7 separate regions of the Homo sapiens genome follow, and regions 1, 2, 3, 4, 6 and 7 are each linked to region 5. Evidence: promoter capture Hi-C in 16 types of primary human blood cells and fetal thymus (Javierre and others, 2016). All regions are on one chromosome and are shown on one strand. The core of a region is centred on a gene start or on the middle of the fragment in contact, and the rest is flanking DNA. Distances in the headings are between cores, read along the strand shown.

What was found. Contacts are between HindIII fragments. The CHiCAGO score rates a contact against its expected background, and 5 or more counts as called.
Region 1: a fragment that was not itself captured here is called in contact with the fragment with the promoter of KRT37 in region 5 in 2 of 17 cell types (neutrophils and monocytes); the score reaches 5.9 in neutrophils.
Region 2: a contact is called between a fragment that was not itself captured here and the fragment with the promoter of KRT37 in region 5, in 2 of 17 cell types (M2 macrophages and M1 macrophages). The highest score is 6.4, in M2 macrophages.
Region 3: a fragment that was not itself captured here is called in contact with the fragment with the promoter of KRT37 in region 5 in 1 of 17 cell types (M2 macrophages); the score reaches 6.6 in M2 macrophages.
Region 4: a fragment that was not itself captured here is called in contact with the fragment with the promoter of KRT37 in region 5 in 3 of 17 cell types (erythroblasts, M1 macrophages and M2 macrophages); the score reaches 5.7 in erythroblasts.
Region 6: a fragment that was not itself captured here is called in contact with the fragment with the promoter of KRT37 in region 5 in 2 of 17 cell types (erythroblasts and M0 macrophages); the score reaches 6.7 in erythroblasts.
Region 7: a fragment that was not itself captured here is called in contact with the fragment with the promoter of KRT37 in region 5 in 3 of 17 cell types (M2 macrophages, monocytes and M1 macrophages); the score reaches 6.9 in M2 macrophages.

What each region holds. Positions count from the first base shown.
Region 1 is chr17:40,844,411-40,847,915 of GRCh38, reverse strand. No RefSeq gene overlaps it. Among named protein-coding and RNA genes, the nearest start is that of KRT12, 21 kb to the left of the region's middle. The HindIII fragment of the contact is 5,334 bases long and covers 1-3,505 here.
Region 2 is chr17:40,811,366-40,814,792 of GRCh38, reverse strand. LOC105371776 (a long non-coding RNA gene) reads right to left here. Exons shown (of 4, transcript XR_934753.2): 4 at 665-845. Among named protein-coding and RNA genes, the nearest start is that of KRT10-AS1, 6.1 kb to the left of the region's middle. The HindIII fragment of the contact is 4,415 bases long and covers 1-3,427 here.
Region 3 is chr17:40,793,217-40,796,727 of GRCh38, reverse strand. It overlaps KRT28 (keratin 28), which reads left to right. Exons shown (of 8, transcript NM_181535.3): 6 at 2,682-2,899. Among named protein-coding and RNA genes, the nearest start is that of KRT28, 5.0 kb to the left of the region's middle. The HindIII fragment of the contact is 6,389 bases long and covers 1-3,511 here.
Region 4 is chr17:40,694,779-40,697,961 of GRCh38, reverse strand. It overlaps LOC105371775 (a long non-coding RNA gene), which reads right to left. Exons shown (of 4, transcript XR_934751.2): 4 at 122-506. Among named protein-coding and RNA genes, the nearest start is that of KRT24, 7.4 kb to the left of the region's middle. The HindIII fragment of the contact is 3,749 bases long and covers 1-3,183 here.
Region 5 is chr17:41,422,381-41,425,958 of GRCh38, reverse strand. KRT37 (keratin 37) reads left to right here and starts at 1,374. Exons shown (of 7, transcript NM_003770.5): 1 at 1,374-1,927; 2 at 2,115-2,197; 3 at 3,025-3,181; 4 at 3,525-3,578. The coding sequence starts at 1,436. The HindIII fragment of the contact is 11,234 bases long and covers 1-3,578 here.
Region 6 is chr17:40,758,877-40,762,122 of GRCh38, reverse strand. No RefSeq gene overlaps it. Among named protein-coding and RNA genes, the nearest start is that of KRT25, 5.2 kb to the right of the region's middle. The HindIII fragment of the contact is 206 bases long and covers 1,309-1,514 here.
Region 7 is chr17:40,775,510-40,778,759 of GRCh38, reverse strand. It overlaps KRT27 (keratin 27), which reads left to right. Exons shown (of 8, transcript NM_181537.4): 6 at 1,028-1,245; 7 at 1,458-1,507; 8 at 1,622-1,952. The coding sequence ends at 1,761. Among named protein-coding and RNA genes, the nearest start is that of KRT26, 4.9 kb to the right of the region's middle. The HindIII fragment of the contact is 6,200 bases long and covers 1-3,250 here.

The DNA.
Region 1 (3,505 bases), core at 931-3,430, 580 kb after region 5:
TAGCTTCCCCCATGACATTAAATTCAAAAGATAAATCATACTTTAGGTTCTTTCCAGCTGAATTCTGTAATTTTGATGACCAGAATTCCTAGCAACTCATTTACACTAGAAAGGGCAGAGTTTTGGGGCCGGGTACGGTGGCTCACGCCTGTAATCCCAGCACTTTGGGAGGCTGAGGCAGGCAGATCACAAGGTCAAGAGATTGAGACCATCCTGGCCAATATGGTGAAACCCCATCTCTACTAAAAATACAAAAATTAGCTGGGCGTGGTGGCACATGCCTGTAGTCCCAGCTACTTGGGAGGCTGAGGCAGGAGAATTGCTTGAACCCGGGAGACAGAGGTTACAGTGAGCTGAGATTGCACCACTGCACTCCAGCCTGGGCGACAGAGCGAGACTCCATCTCAAAAAAAAAAAAAAACAAAGAAAGAAAGGGCAGAGTTTTTATTCACATGGCTCAATTCAGGCAATTGGTTGTGGGCTTCCTGGATTAATTTTATTAAGAATAATTCTCCAGCCAGTCTGGGTTCAGCAGGAAGATGTGTTATCAATTAGTAATGTCTGACATGAGTACAGGAGAGTGGCAGCAAGAATGACTTGTGTTTGTTCTCTCTAAGCTCCACATTTCCTAAAACTATTTTTCTATTTGTAATCATCAGCTTTTTAGTGAATACGGTGAGTAAATTATTCTACCAACTAACTGTTAAAAGTAATACTTACTGCCATTTTTCCTAACACCACTCATGGAGGGTACAGGAATATATCATGAAGCAAATGAAAAGCTGCCCACAAGACTAGATTGATTATCAAAAGGGTTTTTTAAAATACAAATTTAATATAAATTTGAATTACTTCAAAAAACTTACCACAGTCCAGAATCTGTTCCTCATAGCCCTGCAGGTCCAGAAACTAGACTTCACCATGCCCAGAGGTAACCTGACACTTGATGATAGACTTACAGTGACTGTATTCACACAATGCTGATGTGCACATTAGAATGCCAGTTTACTGGCAATGAAGGACATATCTTTCCAGCTGTCTAAGGCCAACTTCCTGAGCACTCACTTTCCTGCACATTCGCCACAATGATGCTTCTAAAATGCAGAATTTTTTCAGTCATTTTTAATTATACCACATGCCTGTTCTTTATGCTAAGTTCCCTATGATACAGTTTAAATGGCTCATTCAACAGATGGTTTCCTATATTACTGATGTGAGCTCTTGAACTGTGTCTTGAACCACTCTTATTTCTGATTTCTCTCTCCTTCCAGGTACCTACCTGTGCTATCTGGCTTATTGGCTCCCTGAGTGTTCTCTTTCTCTCTCTTTTTTTTTTTTTTTTTTTTTTTTGAGATGGAGTTTTGTTCTTGTTGCCCAGGCTGGAGTGCAATGGCATGATCTTGGCTCACTGCAACCTCCACCTCCCGGGTTCAAGCGATTCTCCTGCCTCAGCCTCCCAAGTAGCTGGGATTACAGGCATGTGCCACCACGCCCAGCTAATTTTGTATTTTTACAAGAGACAGGGTTTCTCCATGTTGGCCAGGCTGGTCTTGAACTCCCAACCCCAAGTGATCCGCCCACCTCGGCCTCCCAAAGTGTTGGAATTACAGGCATGAGCCACCGCGCCTGGCCCTCTTTTTCTTTATTTCCCAGAGGAAACATTTCTGAAATACCTCTAAAGAGCTATAAAATTCTACTTGCTTCTGTTTCCCAGTATGTTCTGCACCCAACCATCTTGTCTTCATTCCACCCTTGCTTAGCTCCACACCATTCTTTTTTCTTTTATACTCACTGTGTGTGCTGCAGCAGTGCAAGACACAGATGGCTTCATTCCATCACCACCCTTTCCTTCCCTAATGGCAGACAGTCTGGCTTCTGTGCCCCTACATTGTCCAGTATATTCTTGCACCCAGATCTCCAAGGATCTTGTGGCACTATCATGCACATTAATTTCTAGTCCTCATTCTTCCTGGTCTCTATGCAGAATTTGAAACTCAAGACCCGGAAGAACCTCCTTCTGGAAACTCTACCAGGTGAATCATAATATGCTACAATCCATCCTTGGTTGCCTGAATTTTTTTCCAGACTTCCAGATCACTCCTTATTCACTTCCTTCACTGGGTACTTTTCCTCTGTGCCAAGCCTAACTGAGGGTTTCCTCACCATTCAGCCTTAAACTTCTGCTCTCCCCTTTATAAAATCCAGTTATTCTAAAGGCTTCAACTACCACCTCAATATAGGTAATTTCTGGCCTTCAGCTCTTTCCTAAATTATTTCAATTTCAGTGATCCTTTAATTTGCAAAATTGGTCATATTAAATGATGCTTAAACTATAAAGACTGAGAATGTGTATTAACTGTAATTGGTAGCTTTGAGAGAATTCATTCCCTGTTCTCAAAAGACAACAGTACTTCTAGGATCTTTTCAGAACAAACAGCTAGATTGTAAAGTAATGTTGCAGTTCTAGTCATACTTGACATCTTTAACACTGTTGGCCATCCCATCTTCTCAAAATTCTCCTCTCCACTGGCTCTCTTGAAACTTCTGTCCCCTGGTTCTCCCTTTTATCTTTCAATGTTATCTCTCAAGCCTTTTATATTCTCATTAAATATTGCAGCTCCTCAAGGTTTTATCCATGGTCCTCATCTCTACTCATTCTCCCTGAGAAATCTCATGTAGTTCATGGTTTCTCTTTGCCAGTAACTTCCAAATCACAATTTCTCTCCTAATCTCAGACCCACACTGCAGCTGCCTATGGAATATCTACATCTGAATGTTGATAGGTACCTCAGGCTCAATCTTCCTTTCCCTAAATTTGTTATCTTTCCTACAAAAACTGCTCCCCCTTTGCATTCACATATCAGTCAATAGCATTCCCCGAAGTTCAAAACTAGAAACGTCTTGTCATCTTAGATGCCCTCCATCATCAACGGGCAAACAGCCAAGTCAAATGCCACCTTATCTATGACTATCTTCCCATTCTTATCACTGCACTGACACTTTTGTGAAATTTTCATTGTTTCTTCCCCTCCCCAGACTCTTGCAAATTCTCCCATCTCATCTCCCTTTGTCCAGTTTCCCCCCAATCCATCTAGTACACTGTCAACAAAGTTATCTTTCAAAAAATTAAGGTCATGTTCCTCCCCTATTTAGCAGCTTTCAACGGTCCACTCCATGACTAAGGGATCAAGTCCAAATTCCTTAAAATGGCATTACAGGTCTTTTCTTATGTAGCACAAACCTATTTTCCAGACTTATTTGTTGGCACTCACTCACATAAACTTTATGTCCCAGCTAAACCAAACTTTTCTCAGTTCTTGAAATACGTCGTGTGTGTTTATGTCTCCTTTATACTTGCTGGTCCCTCAGCCTAGATTTTTTTTTTCCCATACAATGAATTCTAAGTCATTCTTTAAGACATCATTCAAAAGACATCTCATTAAGTCCTCCAGAAACTGGTTTCTTTTTACTGGTGCTTCATATACTTTAGATAAATCTGTATTTC
Region 2 (3,427 bases), core at 274-2,773, 610 kb after region 5:
ACATTTAGGTTGGTTCCAAGACTTTGCTATTGTGAATAGTGCCACAATAAACATACGTGTGCATATGTCTTTATAGTAGCATCATTTATAATCCTTTGGATGTATACCCAGTAAAGGGATCGCTGGGTCAAATGGTATTTCTAGTTCTAGATCCTTGAGGAATTGCCACACTGTCTTCCACAATGGTTGAACTAATTTACACTCCCACCAACAGTGTAAAAGCGTTCCTATTTCTCCACATCCTCTCCAGCATTTGTTGTTTCCTGACTTTTTAATGACCGCCATTCTAACTGGTGTGAGATGGTATCTCATTGTGGTTTTGATTTGCATTTCTCTGATGACCAGTGATGTTGAGCATTTTTTCATATGTCTGTTGGCTGCATAAACGTCTTCTTTTGAGAAGTCTGTTCATTTCCTTTGTCCACTTTTTGATGGGGTTGTTTTTTTCTTGTAAATTTGTTTAAGTTCTTTGTAGATTCTGGATATTAGCCCTTTGTCAGATGGGTAGATTGCAAAAATTTTCTCCCTTTCTGTAGGTTGCCTGTTCACCATGATGATAGTTTCTTTTGCTGTGCAGAAGCTCTTTAGTTTAATTAGATCCCATTTGTCAATTTTGGCTTTTGTTGCCATTGCTTTTGGTTTTTCAGTCATGAAGTCTTTGCCCATGCCTGTGTCCTGAATGGTATTGCCTAGGTTTTCCACTTTTTCTTTTTTTCACAGCACTGTTTCCAACTTACTATACAATGTATTCATTATTAGTCATCCTTTTCCCCTGCTAGACGGTACACTCCAGAAAGACAACGCTTGATCTTCGTCTACTTTATCCATTCATGTATCCTGAGGCACTAGAACAGTGACTAACACAGGTTAGGTACCAAAAATATCGTTTTTGAAGGAATGAACTCTATGACATATATACTATTATTATCTCCATTTTACAGATGAAGAAACTGAAGCACAATTTAATTCATCACTGGAACTAAGAGTGTAGGAAATGATTATATATAAATGGACATTAGTGTATGATAAAGGAAGAATCTAAACCCTAAGAAAGTAAGGTTTATTCAGTAAATGATAAACTATTAAACCCATAACAAACATACTAGAAATAATCCAAATGAGTGTCTTAAACATCCATATAAGTAGTAAAAAAAAAGCAGAAAAAAATGTGTAATCACATTTTTTAAATTTTGAAATAATTATAGACTCGTTGGAAATTGCAAAAATAGTAGAGTCCAGTGTACTCCTGACTCACCTTCCCCAAATAGAGACATCTTCTATAGGCTAGGGTATAATATCTAAAATTTAAAAATTGGCATTGGTACATCACTGTTTAACTACAGAGCTTACTCAGTTTTTGTTTTTCCTAACCTGCATGTGTATTCACAAAATACAAATCTTATAAAGGACTGGCATATAGAATATAAATATAAAAAACTATAACTCAATAACAAGAAAAAACCACAAACCAAAAAAAAATTGTGTGTCTGTGCAATTGTACCCCATGTATAGGTACAATTTTTGTACCACCACCCAAATCAAGATACAGAACCATTTCATAACCACAAAAGAACTCCTTCATGCTACCTTTTTGTATTCACATGTGTACCTCAACACTCCCTTCCCAGTTCCTGGCCCCTGGCAACTACTAATCTCCATCTCTATAGTTTTACCATTTAGAGAATGCTATATAAGTGTAATCACACAGTATGTAACCTTTTGAGACTGAACATTTGTGTACACGTTTTGGTGTGAACATACATTTTCATTTCTCTGGGTTATATGTCCAAGCATATAATTGCTAGGTCATATGGTAGGTGCATGTTCAGTTTTGTAAGAAACCGCCAAACTGTTGTCCAGAGAAGCTGTACCATTTTATATTGCCACCAGCAATAAATGGGAGAGCAAATTTTTCTGCATCCTCATCAGTATTTGGCATTATCAGTATTTTTCTAATAGGTATGTACTTATAGCTCACTGAAGTTTAATTTGCATTTCCCTAATGGAAAATATGCTGAATAGCTTTTCTTTTTATTTTCTTTTTTTTCTCTCTCTTTTTTCTTGTTTTGAGACAGAGACTTTCTCTGGCGCCCAGGCTGGAGTGCAGTGGAGCAATCTCAGCTCACCGCAACCTCTGCCTCCCAAGTTCAAGTGATTTTCCTACCTCAGCCTCCTGAGTAGCTGGGATTACAGGCATGCGCCACCATGCCCAGCTAATTTTTGTATTTTTAGTAGAGATGAGGTCTCACCATGTCAGCCAGGCTGGTCTCAAACTCCTGACCTCAGGTGATCCACCCACTTCAGCCTCCCAAAGTGTTGGGATTACAGGCGTGAGCCACTGTGTCTGGCCTGAACAGCTTTTCATGTGGCTATTTGCCATCCGTATCTCCTCTTTGGTGAAACATCTGCTCATGTATTTTGATCATTATATAGCCCATTTGTATTTCATTGTGTTCTTTTCACTTAGGATTACTTTGGCTATTCATGATCTTCATCGGTCCCATATGAATGTTAGAATAGTTTCTTCTAGTTCTGTGAAAAATTACATTGGTGATTTGATAGGAATAGCATTGAACCTGTAGTTCGTTTTGGGCAGTATGGTCATTTTAACAATATTGACCCAATATCATTATTCACCCAATCCATGAGCATATGATGTTTTTCCATTTGTTTGTGTCATCTATTGAAAGTCACCGTCAAAATAATTTTAAAAAGCCAAAGACTGGGAGAAAATAGTCACAAAAATACAAATCTTATAAAGGACTGGCATATAGAATATAAATATAAAAAACTACAACTCAATAACAAGAAAAAAACCACAAACCAATTAAAAAATGGACAAAAGATTTGAACTGATACTTTATCAAAGAAGAGATACAAATGGCAAATAAGCACACAAAGAAGATGCTTGACATCATTAGACATTAGGGAAATACAAATTCTAAACATACCACTATACAACTATTAGAATGACTCAAAAAAAATTTTTTGATGGACAATACCAAGTGCAAGTAGGGATTCTGAGCAACTGGAACCCTCATATATTGCTAGTGGGAATGCAAAATTATAGTTTGGCAGTTTGTCATCGTGTTAAACATAGACTTAACATACAATCTAGCAATCTCACTCATAGACATTTATCCAACTGAAATAAAAATATCTACATAAAGACCTATGAGGAAAATTTAGAGCAGCTTTATTCATAATCATGAAATCTGAAAATAGCCCAAATGCCCATAAACTAGTGAATGGAAAAAAATATGGTACACCCATATATGAAATGCTACAAAAGAAACAGACCACATTACATCTTGAAATTCAAAAGCATTATGCTAAGTGAAAGATGCTAGACTCAGAAGGCTATATGTTATAGCTCATTGATATGAAATTCAAGGAAAAGTCAAACTAGAGAGCTAAAAACAGATCA
Region 3 (3,511 bases), core at 451-2,950, 630 kb after region 5:
ATCACTGGGAGTTTCCTTCCTGGCTGATGCTTAGTGCTCATTTCATGAAAATAGACATTTCACATAGATCCTTTCTCAGGGTAATTCAGCTTAGGTCCGCAAAACAAACAGCAGCAATATTGCTGCACCAGAAAATTAGCCACAGGTCTATGATCAGGGGTGTGGGGCTAGTGTCCCACAGGGCAGGGAGCCAGCATCACACCAGCATCTCCTGATACTGATGAAGACATATTAGAAGCCACATGTGGTTTCACCAGGCAGAGGAAGAGAGGGTACACACCTGAATGCCACATGGGCACTGTCAGGCTCTTCATCGCCACAGAGTCCAGGGCAGAGGTCAAATCCCGGAGGGCACACCTGGGAGCCAGGCCTTCAGCCACTTGGGCATACCACCAGCTCCTGGCTTACTTCAAAGGTCAGCATGGCGTCAACCCAGGATTAAAAATGGCTTCCCTTCTAGAGTGTGAGCTGGCAGTGCCCAAAAGGCTTGACTTTGAGAATTACGGCATGCACATGGCCTAAGGACTCCCTTCCCCATAAGAGGTTTCGTGCCTCCTGAGGACACCAGGTTGTAACACAAAGAAGAGAGCAGCTGTTACCCAAGTGAGTGCAGTGAGCCAAAAAGGAAAAGATGACTCAAAACAACGGGAGATTCTTTTGATTTAGCCGCCCTCTAAAGGTGTGTGCTTTCTCCCTATATCGGATTTAGATGGGAGACTTGTTTTTACACTGACTGGCCCCTAACTTAACCAGGATGGCCCTCTTCTCCTCTCCCTCATCACTGCTGCTAGCAGGTACCCGAGACACCCCTGCCACTGTGGGCTCCTGGAACCTTCCTTTCTTCTCCATTTCCCTTCTTCCCTGAACTAGATCCCTGAGGACTCTGTTCCTGCTGCAGGAGCTGTGTGAGTGAATCCTCCCTCTATTTCTGAGCTACGCTGATGGAAATACATTTTCGAGTCCCCAGACCAGAATTGTGAGCATTTTCACATAGAAACAAGGATGTTATAAAGTAGTTAGAGTCTGTGCAGCCAGTGGTACTATAATTTGGGCTCATAGGATAATCCACACATAAAAAGCCCACTTAACACAGGACATAACTGAATTCTAGAATAATGGGAGCATAGTACCTAACTTACATCCCTGAGGCCCTGTTGTCTTATGAATTCTAAGCTCAATCTCCTAGAGTTAGAACACAAGTCATTTGTAAGTTGGGAGTTGTCTAAATACACAAATGTTCACGTTTGCTTCCTGTGATGTACAAACTTTCAAGTTCATCCTGTTCTCCTCCCTCTTTGACAAGCCAGCCTTCACGGTGGAAGACTGTGAAGTAGAGACGCTGTCCTCTCTGACTTATGAGTGTATTAGCAATCATAAAAAGGAATACCCTAGGAGGACGCATTACCAGGGAAATTAAAGTTTTGAGCTGCCGAGCACACGCCTCACTGGCGTCTTGCTACCTGTTGCCTTACTCTCCGCATTACCATCCTGATCTCCTTCCACTTACCTGCTCCTGGAGAGCCCAGCACCCTCCATGTAACACGTCTGTTTGCCTAAGTCAGTAGCTCTAAGTCAGTGTTAGGTTCTCAGCCCCATTAGACCCAATGTCTGCCCGTTAAGACAAATATTGTGTAATTCCTTCTTTGCAATGCTAGAATGAAGTCACTAGGTAATAGATTTAGAAATATACAAAATTATTTTTTAAAGTATAATACCATAAATGCAATAAAAAGGCAAGTATTTTAAGATAAAATGTATTTACTAGGTAAATACTTGGGCCTAACTACCCTAGAAAATGTAATGAAAGAGGCAGAGCCTTGCATCTTCTCTTAATAAATCTTTCATTTTCAACCATGTAAGATCAGAAGTTCCTCCACACAAGAAAAGGAAAATGAAAGAGTGGAAGTTGGGGTGGACACTTGGATAATAACTAATATCAACAGAAGTAATAATTGCCCAGACATATTTATCTATAATAAGGGAAAGAGGAAAATTACCTTAATTAAAGGAGGCAGCAGGTGCCAAGACAAATTACAGACTGTAGAAGTAGCAAAGAGGAAGTATGATATTCATAAGAGTAGTGTCGAAATAATGACCTGTATTGTGTTATGAGATATAGCTCTTGCCTTGAAATCTCACATCTGTTAAGGCACTCATTCAATCTCAGGTACCTTAATAAAAGACCTTTGATAGAGGCTAGAAAATCAAGGATGGATTAGAGAAAAAAAAAGCAGTAGCACAAAAGGCCATGGAACACTAGCGGAGTGGATCTGCGGGGACAGTAGCAGAGTAAGATGGAAACAACAGGTAACCCTGAAATAAATATATAATTTCAAAATACAAGTTTTCCCATATCGATTTTTTATTCTGCTACCCTTAAAAGGTGCTTTAATATATCAGTTGGTTTTAATAGAAATATGACCTATATATCATCAATGTCCAGTGGAACATCAAAAGTCTTGTGGGAAAAGGGCCATTTATCCCGGGTCAGGATCCCACGTCCATCATGCCTGGCCCTCACTTCATAAATGCCAGCCTCCTTTCTTTCCCATTTGATTGTGACAAGCCTCACAAATTTCCACAATTGCCCAGGGAGCAATCCTGCTGATTACTGAGAAACAATGTTCTACTAGTCCTCAGAGTGTTTTCATCCCTTGCCACGGCTTCTTTGATGTCCTCAGAAACACTCCCTGGAGTGCTCCTTGACAGAGACCGAGAGCAACTACTGTACGCAGCTGGCGCAGATCCAGGCTCAGATCGGGGCCCTGGAGGAGCAGCTGCACCAGGTCAGAACCGAGACCGAGGGCCAGAAGCTGGAGTATGAGCATCTCCTCGATGTCAAGGTCCACTTGGAAAAAGAAATTGAGACCTACTGCCGCCTGATAGATGGAGATGGAAAGTAAGTAAAGCCATTTGAAAATCCAGTTTTTACCTCTTTTAAGCTACAAATGTGGGCTGCCCATTAGCCTTCCATACTTCCAAGCCTTTTCTTTTTCATTCCCACTGCAGAAAAGCATGTCCATCTCTTGTTTTTTTGGAAGAGAGTCATCTCTTCCAAATCCTGTTCATCACAGTGTTCTCCTCTGCATTAGATGACTGGAAATGTTCCTGCAGCCATTCCCATCTGTTGTCCATGTTAATCACTGTGGGTTTCAAGATTCTCTCCACCTCCCACAAGCAGGCTTTATCCTTCTTTCAGTGCATACCTAATTTCACTGCTGCCCTGAAATAAATGTACTCTGTACAAACCACCTGGATCCATATATATATGTATGTCCTTAAGTTTTAAATTCTTGGGTGTAAAAAAAAAAATCAAATGGAAACAAGATTTATTTATATTCTCTCTTTAGATAACATTTAATTACTTTCAGCTCCTACACATAAAAATCTTAAGAGTTTCCTCTATAGAAAACTAAGACCTGTTTTTGGCATACAAATTTCATTCATTGAGTCAATGAATATTTCTGAAGCGATAGTAAGCAGAAATATAAAAGAATAAACTATATTTCTT
Region 4 (3,183 bases), core at 462-2,961, 730 kb after region 5:
ACCTAGGAAGGAAGCTATCAAGTATGATCTAGCTGCATGACTATATTACTAATGTCAGTTCATTCTTTATATCTTACTGTTGTAACTGAGCGAGTTATAGAGAAATGACACACTCTGAGACTAATTCAGGAGTCCTTTTATTGCCGGCGAACAAGACGGCTAGAGCTCAAAATTCTCTCGGCCCCGAAGAAGGGGCTAGATTTCTTTTTATATCGTGGTCTAAATAGGGGAGAGGGAGTTTAGCTGAAGCAATTTTTACAGAAGCAGAACAGGCAAACCAATTAAGAAAGATTAATTGGTTACAGAAACAGTTACAGAAAAGTAAACAGTTCCAGGTGCAGGGGCTCAAACTATCACAAAGAGATAATGCAGGGGCTTTGGGTGCCATCCCCCAAGCGCGTCCTCAGGAACTGCTGATTTAGCTTGCCTCGATATCTCATCAGTAAGCGCATTCCTGGATGTGCTCGGAGTCAGCTTGCACTACTTATGCCTTTAAGGGAGGGGAGCTGCAAGTGAAGAAACAAAAATGGAGTCTGTCCGGCTCTCTCAGCTAAGAGAGACAATCAGGTTAAAACGAGGTAGGGTATCACATTACCTTCTTTATACAATTCAGATTATAGTCATTTTTTTAATGTGGGCATTTTTAATGGCATCACATAAGAACTCAGTGGCATGATAGCTGAAATTAGACTACCGTGTCAACGGCTTAGCCCACAAAGAAGGATGTGATTATTTTAATAATCAACTTATAATTAATGTCTAGTTTATATATGTCCATCACTGAACTCGATATTTTATAAGATAAAAAAGAAACTCAAAATCTCCCTCCTACTTCAAAAAGCTCACATTTCAGCAGAGAAGAAGAGCTAAAACACAAAGAAGACAGCAAGCAATAAAAAGCTGTTAATAGTAAAGACTTGATTTCACAATCTGCATCAGAAGTGACATAGGAATCAGACATGTGTGTTTACAGGACATTTAGGACAGGGGCCAAAAAAGAGTCTTGGGAAATAAGATTGGCTATGTGATATGGCAATCTGATTTCCTGAAACCTTGAAAGCCCCAAAGAGAAGAGATCCTCAGGCACTTGTTCCCCTGCCAAATCTAGCCACATCTTTAGCCAAAACCTGCCACTTCGCCAAGCTGGTGTTTCTTTTCCCCAGTCTCCACTGCTAAGATCTTTCATCCCGTTGGTGGTCATAGCCCTATTCTTTCATTTCTACAGTATCCCTGAGGCCACATGGCTTTGTCTTGTCTTGTTTGGGATGATGAAACCTGTTAAGATTGGGTAGGAGGTGGTACGGGCCCCAGGAAGAACCAGGCATAGCACCAACCCAGGCTGGCTAAGGGCTTTCTCAATCAAGGAATTTAATATGCCCATATCACAAATTAGAGAATCAACTCTACAAGCCAGTCCTCAAGGAAAGAACACGGGACGTGGCATAAAAAGCCAAATGTAAAGTTATAAAAGGACAAATCTGAACATGTATCTTCCAATATAAAACCAATTAAGAATTGTGTGAGCATATCAAACCTATCATCAAAACATGTAGTTTTTCATCTTCTGGGCACATTGAATAAAACTTAAAATGAACCTCTGGGTACATTATGACTTCTGCTTAAATAGCTAACCACAGAATAAGGTTAATAGCTAACCACAGAATAAACATTAAACCACTACTCAAAGAAAAAGAGCAATGTTAAGTTGCTTAAGTCAAAGCTGTTTTCCACCATCAAATCATTACAATAAATAAAACCCTGAATGCTTCTTCTCTGCTGAAATACTAAAAGTCTGAACCAGCTCATCCAACTGGATTCATAGCTCAAGAGCAGAAATGGAAATCTGCCGTAAGCAGCCTGCAGAACCTAAGCCATCCCGGCCACATCAGCGAAGCCTCTCTCTGTGGGTCTTCTCAAGTCTAACCTTCTAGCTGTGGATTTTGGCCACCTGAGACCTATGTTCATGGCTAGTACTATTTTCATGTCAAGGCAAAAGTATAAGGCTACTCTGAAAGTCATCTCGAGGTGAAAACCCTCATCTGTTCTTCCTTGTCATGCGTTAAGATGCTGCGTTTGTACTGAATGATTGTTTACAAATATAGAAAAGGCCCAATCATAGACACCAGAACACTGAGACACAATAGAATGTGTTGTTAAGGGCATGTTCAATTTTGAAAACTGAAACTATTCAACCATTTTGGATCATAAAACGTATTTACAGTGCTGAATAAAAAGTTAAGGACATGGTGTTCATACATTATTACTTGCCTTAAAATTATTTTAAAACTCTACAATAGGAATATGTTTATTGTGAGACCCTAAAGTTCAGCTCTCCAGGCAATTTTTTTGCTTTGTTTTGTTACAGGGTCTCGCTCTGTTGCCCAGGCTGGAGTGTAGTGGTGCCATCTCGATTCACCTGCAGCCTCAACTTCCTGGGCTCAAGCAATCCTCCCACCTCAGCCTCCTGAGTAGCTGCAGGCAACCATGCCCAGCTAATTTTGTTTATTTTTTGTAGAGATGGAGTTTCACTATGTTGCCCAGGCTGGTCTCAAACTCCTGGGCTCAAGCAATCCTCCCACCTCGGCCTTCCAAAGGGCTGGGGTTATAGGCATGAACGACTGCATTCAGCCTCAACTTTTGAATGAGAGGAACACATTTCTTTTTTCTAAGAGTGGATTTACTGTAAGAAGGGAGAGCTCATGCCCACATGCACATGGGCTTTCTTTTTTGTTTGTTTGTTTTTTTTGAGACAGAGTCTCTCGCTTGTCGCCCAGGCTGGAGTGCAGCGGCGCGATCTCGCCTCCACCTCCCAGGTTCAAGCGATTCTCCTGCCTCAGCCTCCTGAGTAGCTGGGATTACAGGCACGCGCCACCAAGCCCAGCTAATTTTTGTATTTTTAGTAGAGACGGGGTTTCACCATGTTGGCCAGGCTGGTCTCGAACTCCTGACCTTGGGATCCGCCCACCTCGGCCTCCCAAAGTGCTGGGATTACAGGCGTGAGCCACCGCACCCAGCCTCGCACATGGGTTTTCACCCGTTGACTTTTAATCCAGAGATTCACAGGGTTGTTTTTTCTTTCTCACCTCAGGGAAGTATACACAAGAATGATGAGAATGGTCGACGTGGCATCCATCCTCACAGAGATGACAAACAAGAAACAAGGTTCACAGCAGGCAGCTCAGA
Region 5 (3,578 bases), core at 125-2,624:
GCCTGCCTTGGCCTCCCAAAGTACAGGGATTACAGGCGTGAGCCACCGCGCCCGGCCTAGTTTAACTTTTTAAAGTGCATTTTCTTGTTGTCACTGCCATAGTATTTAAATCTTTTCCTTTGCTGGAACACAAAGACCTTCAGTAATTTTCTTTTCACCACAATTTCTCATCCAGTAACTAAGCCCCTTCTTGCCCTCTCCTTAGGCCCAGCACTGACGGGGCAATGACACCGTTGTTCTCACCGGGGGCCATGATGAAGTGAAAAGAGAATGGGCCTAGCAGACATGAGACTGAATCGAGCCTTTGCCAGTTCACTAACTGTCAATCAGAAAATGTGCAAATGTACTTCACTCTAGTTTTCTCATCTGTACATTGAGGCAATGAGTAACCACCTCATAGGTGGTAAGGGTTAGATAGGAAAGAACACAGTAGAATGCCTAGCACACCTAAGTACTCAATCAATGTTAGTTCTGGACCTTTCATTTGAATACTGCTTGAGCTCTGTGCCCAATCTCCCTTTCCTGGATCAAATAAGATTTTTCTTTGTTAGTGATTTCTTTCTAGATACTTCCTTGGCCAGAACTATAGATCCTCTGTCTTTCACTAACTCTTGTTGATCTATGGTTCTCATTCAAGTTTGTGTAGAACATCCAGAGATTTCAGAGGCATTGTTTACTCCTGATGAACAGGGAACATTGCGTGTCCAGGAACCAGCACACTGCCTGAGTTATGGGGGATATTCAGGAAGCATGCTGAACCAATGAATGAATGAACAAATGAATGAATAGCTGATTCTGACTAGTCAACCAAAACTTAATTAGCGCCATTGCTTCCAGATGTTATTGCTTCTCAAGGGAGTATGCAATGTGAAAGAAGAAAGAAAAAAAGGCGCCTCTCAATCGTCAAATATCAGTAGATGCATTGGTTTTATTAACTGATATTTTCTCTTCAAAGGAAAGGCTGATTCAGTCTTGCACAGGCGAAAGATCCAGTGGGTCCCATTGGTTCTCTGTGTCTCCTGCTACACAAATTACTGACGGAAAGATTTGAGCCTTCATTGTGACCACATCCACAGAGACCATAGTCCAGAGAGAGCAATTGGGGCCTGAATCAACTGCTGGTGTTTGTTGAGCAGAAACAGTGAGTCTCTGACTTCCCACCAACAGCTAACCTGATATGGAAGAGCCAAGAGGCATCTCAGATTTGTCAACATTGCTTTAATGAGCTGAGGAACTTCTCATGGTAAACTCAGCAGCTGAGTAACAGGATGATGGCACCACAACAGGTAGATAATCAAGGCAGGAGGTCAAAGCACTGGAGCCAACACCCGCCCAGGATGGGGTATAAAAGGGTTGGGAGGAGAGGAGGCTTCAGTCTCAGTGGCTCAGCCTTCCCAGCTGATCTGAAGCTCCTGTGCAGCCTCAGCCCTACACCATGACCTCCTTCTACAGCACCTCCTCATGCCCTCTGGGTTGCACCATGGCTCCTGGAGCAAGAAATGTCTTTGTCTCTCCTATCGATGTTGGGTGCCAGCCTGTGGCAGAGGCCAATGCTGCCTCCATGTGCCTCTTGGCCAACGTGGCACACGCCAACAGAGTCCGTGTGGGGTCGACTCCCCTGGGCCGCCCCAGCCTCTGTCTGCCCCCAACCAGTCACACTGCTTGTCCCTTGCCAGGGACCTGTCACATTCCCGGCAACATCGGAATCTGTGGGGCCTACGGCAAAAACACCCTGAATGGCCATGAGAAGGAGACCATGAAGTTCCTGAATGACCGCCTGGCCAACTACCTGGAGAAGGTGCGCCAGCTGGAGCAGGAGAATGCAGAGCTGGAGACCACACTCCTCGAGAGGAGCAAGTGCCACGAGTCCACCGTGTGCCCCGACTACCAGTCCTACTTCCGTACAATCGAGGAGCTCCAGCAGAAGGTGAGGTGTGGGATCGCCTGGGCATGCTGGGTCTGAGAAGGCAGAAGCCTTCGCAGGAGGAATCTGCATAAGGTCCAGAGAGCTTTGGGTTCTTGGTTTCTCTTGGACATGAGCGTAAATACCACACATGGAGTGGGAGCTTAGAGTATGGTGCTTTGTGTGTGAACCGTCTTTCCGTTTTCCTCAGATCCTGTGCAGCAAGGCTGAGAATGCCAGGCTGATTGTACAAATTGACAACGCGAAGCTGGCTGCTGATGACTTTAGGATCAAGTAAGTCAGGATGAGGAGGGTCAGTGTGACTTCTCTCCTGCTGTATTTCCAAGGGCCCGCCCCATTACTCAGTCTATATTGTAGGTGTTCAAAAACAGTTTTTGACTAGAAGAATATTTCTCTCCACACCTTAAATTAGCCTGTTGCTAGAAATGGTCATTATATAGGAGGAAAGAGAATATAAGCATTGAAAGAAAAAGAAGGGCTGTAGTCTAGATTGGTTAGAACCTATGTCACTTTCTCCCATATCTAGAAGATAAGAGGATTTTGCTTTTCAATCAGAAGTAAAATTGAGTCATCACAAAAATAAACTGTCAATGCATAGGTTGTTGCTAGACTCTCTGACTCTTGGCCAAATCCATCAGCTGGAGGAATTGTCATTGAAGCTCCTTGGTAGCTAGAGTTGTGCTTGAATGAAGGGGAAAAGCAAGAAAACAACGAGAAATAATGAATCCAAGAGGAAAAGCAGCAAACTGAAGGTCCAGAGGCTTATTTTTAGCCATTCTTTTTCCTGGCCAAATGACTCCTATTATGGCAGAATAAATGCTGCATTTGAAGTCAGAACACTTAGGATGAGTCCATGCATTTACTATTAACTGGGCATGGAATTCTGAACAACTCGTGTTTTGTTTCTGAGCCTCAGTCTTCCATCTGGTCAATGGGCATAATGTCCTGACTACAAACCGTGTCGCTGCAGGGTTGAGAATAGTGTATACTGCCCACGTGAACAAATAAGGATCCAAGGTGGTGTGGGAGGTAGGAAGCCAGGGCAGCTGAGAGGGGCTATTGGGGCATTCTTTTTGACCCTGTGCCTCCTGTGACGGAAGGCTGGAGAGTGAGCGCTCCCTTCACCAGCTGGTGGAGGCGGACAAGTGCGGGACGCAGAAGCTCCTGGATGACGCGACCCTGGCCAAGGCCGACCTGGAGGCCCAGCAGGAGTCCCTGAAGGAGGAGCAGCTCTCCCTCAAGAGCAACCACGAGCAGGTGTGGCCCTGGCTGCTCAGACTCCTGGGGAGGGCGCTGGGCAGACAGGGGAGCTCCCCGGCCCTGGGGCTCTCAGAGCATTGCCTGGGCTCAGCTGGCCTAAGGATGCAGGGCTGAGGTGGGTCTGAGGGTCCAGAGGGCCTCTGTGGAAAGTGCAGACTTGCCTTGGGCATGAGGAAGGTGTCCAGGTGGGCTCTCCCAAATGCACTCTGGACAAGACTTTCCCATTTGCTTATGTGTGGGACTCCCCTCCTACTGCTTGCCAGGGACGGAGTCCTGGTGCTGTCTGCTCCATCAAAGGCCGTTTCCTTACGCAGGCTGTCTATCGCTTCCATTTCTGCAGGAAGTAAAGATTCTGAGGAGTCAGCTGGGGGAGAAGTTCCGGATCGAGCTGGAC
Region 6 (3,246 bases), core at 162-2,661, 660 kb after region 5:
CTCTCAGCTGAGGCTTGAGAGTAGTGCTGCGCACACAAGACCTGGAGACAGACATGCTCATCAGTGCTCCTATAGCCTGACCCACTGATCTTGGTCCTGCTGTGGATCTTGAAATGGCCCTGTAATTCAGCACCAGCCTCTATCAACTGTGGTCTGAGAGCAAGCCTGCCTGCCCGGGGACCCACCAGAAAACATACCCTTCTGTGACCCCAAAGACAGGTCTGAAGAGCTCAGTCTCAGTTACAGGCTCTAAAGCAGCCCCAAAACTCAGTTCTAACTTGTCTCAGCCATGGACTTGAGCAGCACTACATACCCAGGGTCTCACTTAGTGATCCACTGGGAGACTTTCCAGAGACACAGAAGAAGCCACACCCACTCACACACCTGGTAATGGCCCATCATCTACAGATCTTGAAATGGACTCTCATCCCAGTGCCAGCTCTATGGACCAAGGTTCTACAGACAGTCCAGTCAACCCAGAGACTACACAGAATCCACAGCTACTACAGCCCCTGGTAACAGACCTATCAACTATAGACCCCACTGTGGACTCAGCAATAGCCATGTGATCCAGCTCCAACCTCATTTGACCACAATCCCATCACCACAGGAACCTAATAGAAGAAGGCCTTAAACTGCCAAAAGCAGTCTATAAAGATTTAAAGAGGGCCAGGTGTGGTGGCTTTCACCTGTAATCCCAGCACTTTGGGAGGCTGAGGCGGGTGGATGGCTTGAGCTCAGGAGTTCAAGACCAGCCTGGGCAATATGGCAAAACCCCATCTCCACAAAACATATAAAAATTAGCTGAGTATGGTGGCATATGCCTGTCATTCCAGTTACTCAGGAGGCTGAGGTGGAAGGATCACTTGAGCCTGGGAGCCAGAGATTGCAGTGAGCTGAGATCACGCCACTGCACTCCAGCCTGGGTGACAGAGTAAGATCCTGTCTCAAAAAAAAAAAATGAAGGAGGTATTTGTGCCTTCAAATGCACAGATACCAATGCAAGACTACATGAATAATGAAGAATAAGGCAAGCATGACACCACCAAAGGAAACTAATAAGGCTCCAGTAACTGACCCCAAAGAAAGGGAGATCTACAAATTGCCTGAAAGAAAATTCAAAATAATCATCTTAAAGAAGCTCAATAAGATGCAAAAAGACATAGATAAATAACTAAATGAAATTAGGAAAACAATGCATAAACAAGATGAGAAGCTTAATTTTTAAAATAGAAACCATAAAAATAAAACCAGAAATCCTAGACCTGAAGAATACAATGACAAAACTGAAAAATTCAATAGAAAGCTTCAACAGCAGACTCTATCATGCAGAAGAAAGAATTAGCAAACTCAAAGAAAGGGCATTTTAAATTACTGAATTAGAGGAACAAAAATGTTTAAATAATAAAAAAGAGTAAAGAAGGCATACAGGATCTAGTCTATCCCACCAAGCATACAAATATATACATTATGAGGATTTCAGAAGGAGGAAAGAGAGAAAAGGAAAGAAAGCTTATGTAAAGAAATACATCCCAAATCTTGAGAGGGATATGGACATACAGATTCACGAAATTCAAAGGATCCCAAGCAAGATCAACCCAAAGACAAACACTCTGAGGCACATTAATGCATGTGGGGCTTAAAACCTAGATGGCAGGTTGATAGGTGCAGCAAACCACCATGGCACATATATACCTATGTAACAAACCTGCACATTCTGCACATGTATCCCAGAACTTAAAGTAAAATTTTTTAAAAATTGCCAAAAGACAGAGAGAATCTTGAAAGCAGCAAAAGATAAGAGACTGATTACATACAAGGGAACCCCCATGAGGCTATCAACAGACTTCTCAACAGAAACCTTGCAAGTCAGGACAGTAGGATAATATATTCAAAGTGCTGAAAGAAAAAAACCTGCCAACCAAGAATATCATACCCAGAAAAGTCTGGGCTTCATAAATTAAGGAGATATCCCCAAACAAAAGCTGAGGGAGTTCATTGCCTCCCTTACAAGAAATGATAAAGATAGGTCAATTAGTTGAAACAAAGGAACTCTAATTAGCAACATGAAAACATATGAAAGTTAAAAAAACTCACTGTTAAAGGTAAATATACAAATTCAGAATATACTACTGTAATGGTGGTGTACACATCACTTATATCTGGTATAAAGGTTAAAAGACCAAACTATTAAAACTAATTATAAGTACAATAATTTGTTAAGGAATACACAATATAAAGAGATATAAATTGTGACATCAAAAAAATAGATGGAGGGGTAGTAAAACTGTAAAGTTTTTGAATGCAGTTGAAGTTATCAGCCTAAAATAACCTGTTCTAACATGTTCAGTGTAAGTCTCATGATAACCACAAAGCAAAATTCTATAGTAGATACACAAAAGAGAAAGAGAAAGGAATCAAAGCATGCCACTAGAGAAAGTTGTCAAATCACAAAGGCAGACAGCAAGAAAGGAAAAAAGAAACAAAGGATCTACGAAACAACTGGAAAACAACAAAATGGCAGTAGTAAGTCCTTACCTATCAATAATTACCTTGAATATAAATGGATTACATTCTCCAATCAAATGACACAGAATAGCTAAGGGTACTAAAAAGGCAAACACACACACACACATACACAAAATCTGTATGCTGTCTACAAGAGACTCACTTCAGCTTTAAGGACACACATAGACTAAAAGTGAAGGGATGGAAAAAGATATTCCATGCAAATAGAAACAAAAAAGAGCAAAGGTAGCTATATTTATATCAGAGAAAAGTAGACTTTAAGTCAAAAACTATAAAAAGAAAGAAAGTCATTATGTAATGATAAAGAAGACAATTCATCAAGAGGATATAACAATTGTAAATATATATGCACCCAACATCAGAGCACCTAAATATATAAAGCAAACATTAACAGGTATGAAGGGAGCAATAGACAACAATGCAACAATAGTAGGGGACTTCAGTACAACAGTTTCAACAATGGATCAATCATCCAGACAGAAAATTAGTAAGGAAAGATTAGACTTAAACTACACTTTAGACCAAGTGGACCTAACAGATGTATATAGAACATTATATCAAACAAGAGCAGAATACACATTCTTCTCAAGCACACACAGAACAGTCTCCATGATAGATTATATGTTAGGTCACAAACAAGTCTTAACAAACTTCAGATTAAAATTATATCAAGTATTTTTTATCCACAATAGTATGAAATTAGAAATCAATAACAGG
Region 7 (3,250 bases), core at 73-2,572, 650 kb after region 5:
AATTAAGAGCACTTACAAGTTCCTTTGTAAGTGGCATAGACAGAGGAAAAGTCGAGGCATGAAGGCTGACTATAAAACTAAACATGTGTAATGATAATCATAACTGCTTTCATTAAGGGTTTGCCCAGCACTTCCGCCCACATGTGAGTCCACAACAACCCCGGGGCATGGGCAGGGCAGACGTTATAACTCATGTCATTATTTCCAAAAGAGGACTCTGAGATTCGAAGAAGTTAAGCAATTCCCACAGTCCCACAGTTGGGTATGAAGGAATCCAGAAGTTCTCTCCAAATTTTCTAACTCCCAAGTCTATACTTTTCCCACTATGGCTAGTAAACCACCAGAGTTTATCCACAGATGAGGCTATGAATGTATATAAAATCAAGACTTTATATAAAAAATACTTGCAGGTGAAAGGATAAGACACTCTCATCTTCATTCCATGTAAAATTGCAGTGAGTGTTCCCTCTGAGTATATCTGTAAACCCATTCAGATTCACAAGCCAATGAATTGAACTACTGTATTTAAAGTCTAAGAAGGTAATTATTTTCTGTGGTTTATTCTACTCATGGAACGTTTATGCGGTTTACTGCAGGATGACTTTTTAATAGAAGAGCTACAATCCTCATAAGACAAGACTGTCACATGGCTAGAAATGAGTAGCAAAGTATAGGCGGACTTCTAGTTGTGGGTAAAGTAGCAAATTGTGCCACACTCTACAAGCACAGGCTATATTGGTGCAGGGGAGGGATCTTTCAGTCTGTGCCCTATGAAGAGACAATTTCATCTTTTTTAGCACACCTGGGCATCTGAGGGACATTCAGCACCAGCTGTGTCATTCTCAAATAGAAAAGTAGTAGGACATTTAATAAAGGCAACAATTAATATTGAAGAAGTGGAATCTTTTGGGTAAATATAATTATTTGCATGATGTAAGGATAATTCTCTTAATTATCTCTTAAATGCTTTGGCTTATTCTAAAACACCGTGACCTTTTCTATTAAACCATGTCTTACCAAACTACAGAAACACTCCCTGGAGTGCTCCTTGACAGAGACCGAGAGTAACTACTGTGCACAGCTGGCACAGATCCAGGCTCAGATCGGGGCCCTGGAGGAGCAGCTGCACCAGGTCAGAACCGAGACCGAGGGCCAGAAGCTCGAGTATGAGCAGCTCCTTGACATCAAGGTCCACCTGGAAAAAGAAATTGAGACCTACTGCCTCCTGATAGATGGAGAAGATGGGTCAGTATTGCCGCCATTGAGAAAACAATTCATTTTTAAGGTTACTAAAGATGATTTGAAATCAAGTACAAAATATCTATGATCTAGATCACGCATAGATAATACTCTTTTAGTGTTATTTCAGAATGCAGTGAATTCCCACCTTAAATCATTATTTTTCAGTTTCCTCAGTAAAACAGAATAATTAATATAAGCGCTCTATACTTTTACAGCTCCTGTTCTAAATCAAAAGGCTATGGAGGCCCAGGAAATCAAACAAAAGGTAAACAAAAGCTGTGTTAGGCATTCAGTGTTTATTTGTATGTGTTTCAAATGATGTTTTATTTCCTATTTATGAATTTGATAAATTCTAAACAGTTTATATGTGGCATTTTAGATTCATCTAAAACCACCATTGTCAAAACAGTTGTTGAAGAGATAGATCCTCGTGGCAAAGTTCTCTCATCCAGAGTTCACACTGTGGAAGAGAAATCCACCAAAGTCAACAACAAGAATGAACAGAGGGTGTCTTCCTGAACTCCAGCCTCTGAGACAGAATGGCCCCCAAATTAAAATACCAAAATGAAGCTAGTTTCCTAAATAAGGGTCCCCTTATTTTTCTGCTTTTCTTCCAATGAATTAAGACAAGTTATTTTTAGAATAGTACCATTTCTTTGGCTTTTTCTCTATGGTGGTGTTTCAATAAAAGTTCTTCCTGTTGCAAGTCATCTTCCCTGGTTCTGGCCAATCTTTGCATTTTAGATATACCCTCCCAAATGGAAGCTGAATTTTGTCTTTAATTTCTTCTGTTTAATTCAACAGTCTTCACAAGTTGGAAGTAAGTTTAATGTGAAAACTAGTTGGAGTCTTTTTGACTTCTCTGTAAAATTTTGTCTCCTTTGTCTCAGTACGAAAAGTACTTACTGAGAACACGCTATGTGCCAGATAACGAGGATAAAACAGTTAATAAGATCCAGTCCCTGAAGTCAATATGCTCATAGATGTAGAAATAAGAACCTGAAGAATCAGAAACAAACTTAAACATAAAGGAAAGGCTATAAGTAGTGATATTTGAAGGTAGAAGGGGAAAAAGAGAGCTGTGAGGACAAGGGTAAGAGGAGAATTCCAGCAGGCATCTAATTCATAATCTTGATCACTCCACCATAACGGTAGGAATTCACAAGTTCTCTCCTTCGTTTTTGCCATCCAAGACTGCAGAGCCATGTGGCTCTCAAGTCAAAGGTAACTTTTAGTGCAATAATTTCAGCACCTACCATTAATGAATCTATTTCAAGGCTGGGAGTGGGAGGAGGTTAAACTCAGCAGAAAACCCTCCAGAGGTTTATTTGTGGGTGAGAGATTTGGCTCCCCCTCACCAATCCCGTAACAGAAACAGCCTGTTTTTCTCTGGAACCAGTGTCCTATTACTGAACTCTGTAGAATTGGCTCAGCACAGTTGAAACACAGTCACTTTCAAGCTGTCTTTCCTCCTCTTTTTCCCACACGCATGTAATAATACCTAAGCGAATGTAAGGCAGATACCCTCTCACTTAACTTTTTAATTAACCAGTCCTCACATCATATACCCTCATATCAAAATTAGGAAAAGGAAACATCCTACCACGTAAGAGTTGAAAAGTTACATTCACGCAAAAACCTGTGCACAGATGTTTATAACAGCTTTATTCGTAATTGCCAAAACTTGGAAGCAACCAAGATGTCCTCTTGGTTGACGAATGGATAAATAACTGTGGTACCTCTAGACAACAAAATATTATTTAGTGCTAAAAAGCTATGAGCTATCAAGCCATGAAAAGACACAGAGGAACCTTAAATGTATATTACTAAGTGAAAGAAGCCAATCTGAAAAGGCTACATACTGTATGACCCCAACTATATGACATTCTGTACAAGGCGAAACTATGGAGATAGTAAAAAGATAATTGGCTGCCAGAAATTGGAGGTGAGGGATGCACAGGCAGAACACAGAGGATTTTTAAGGCTGTGAAAATACTCTGGATAATAT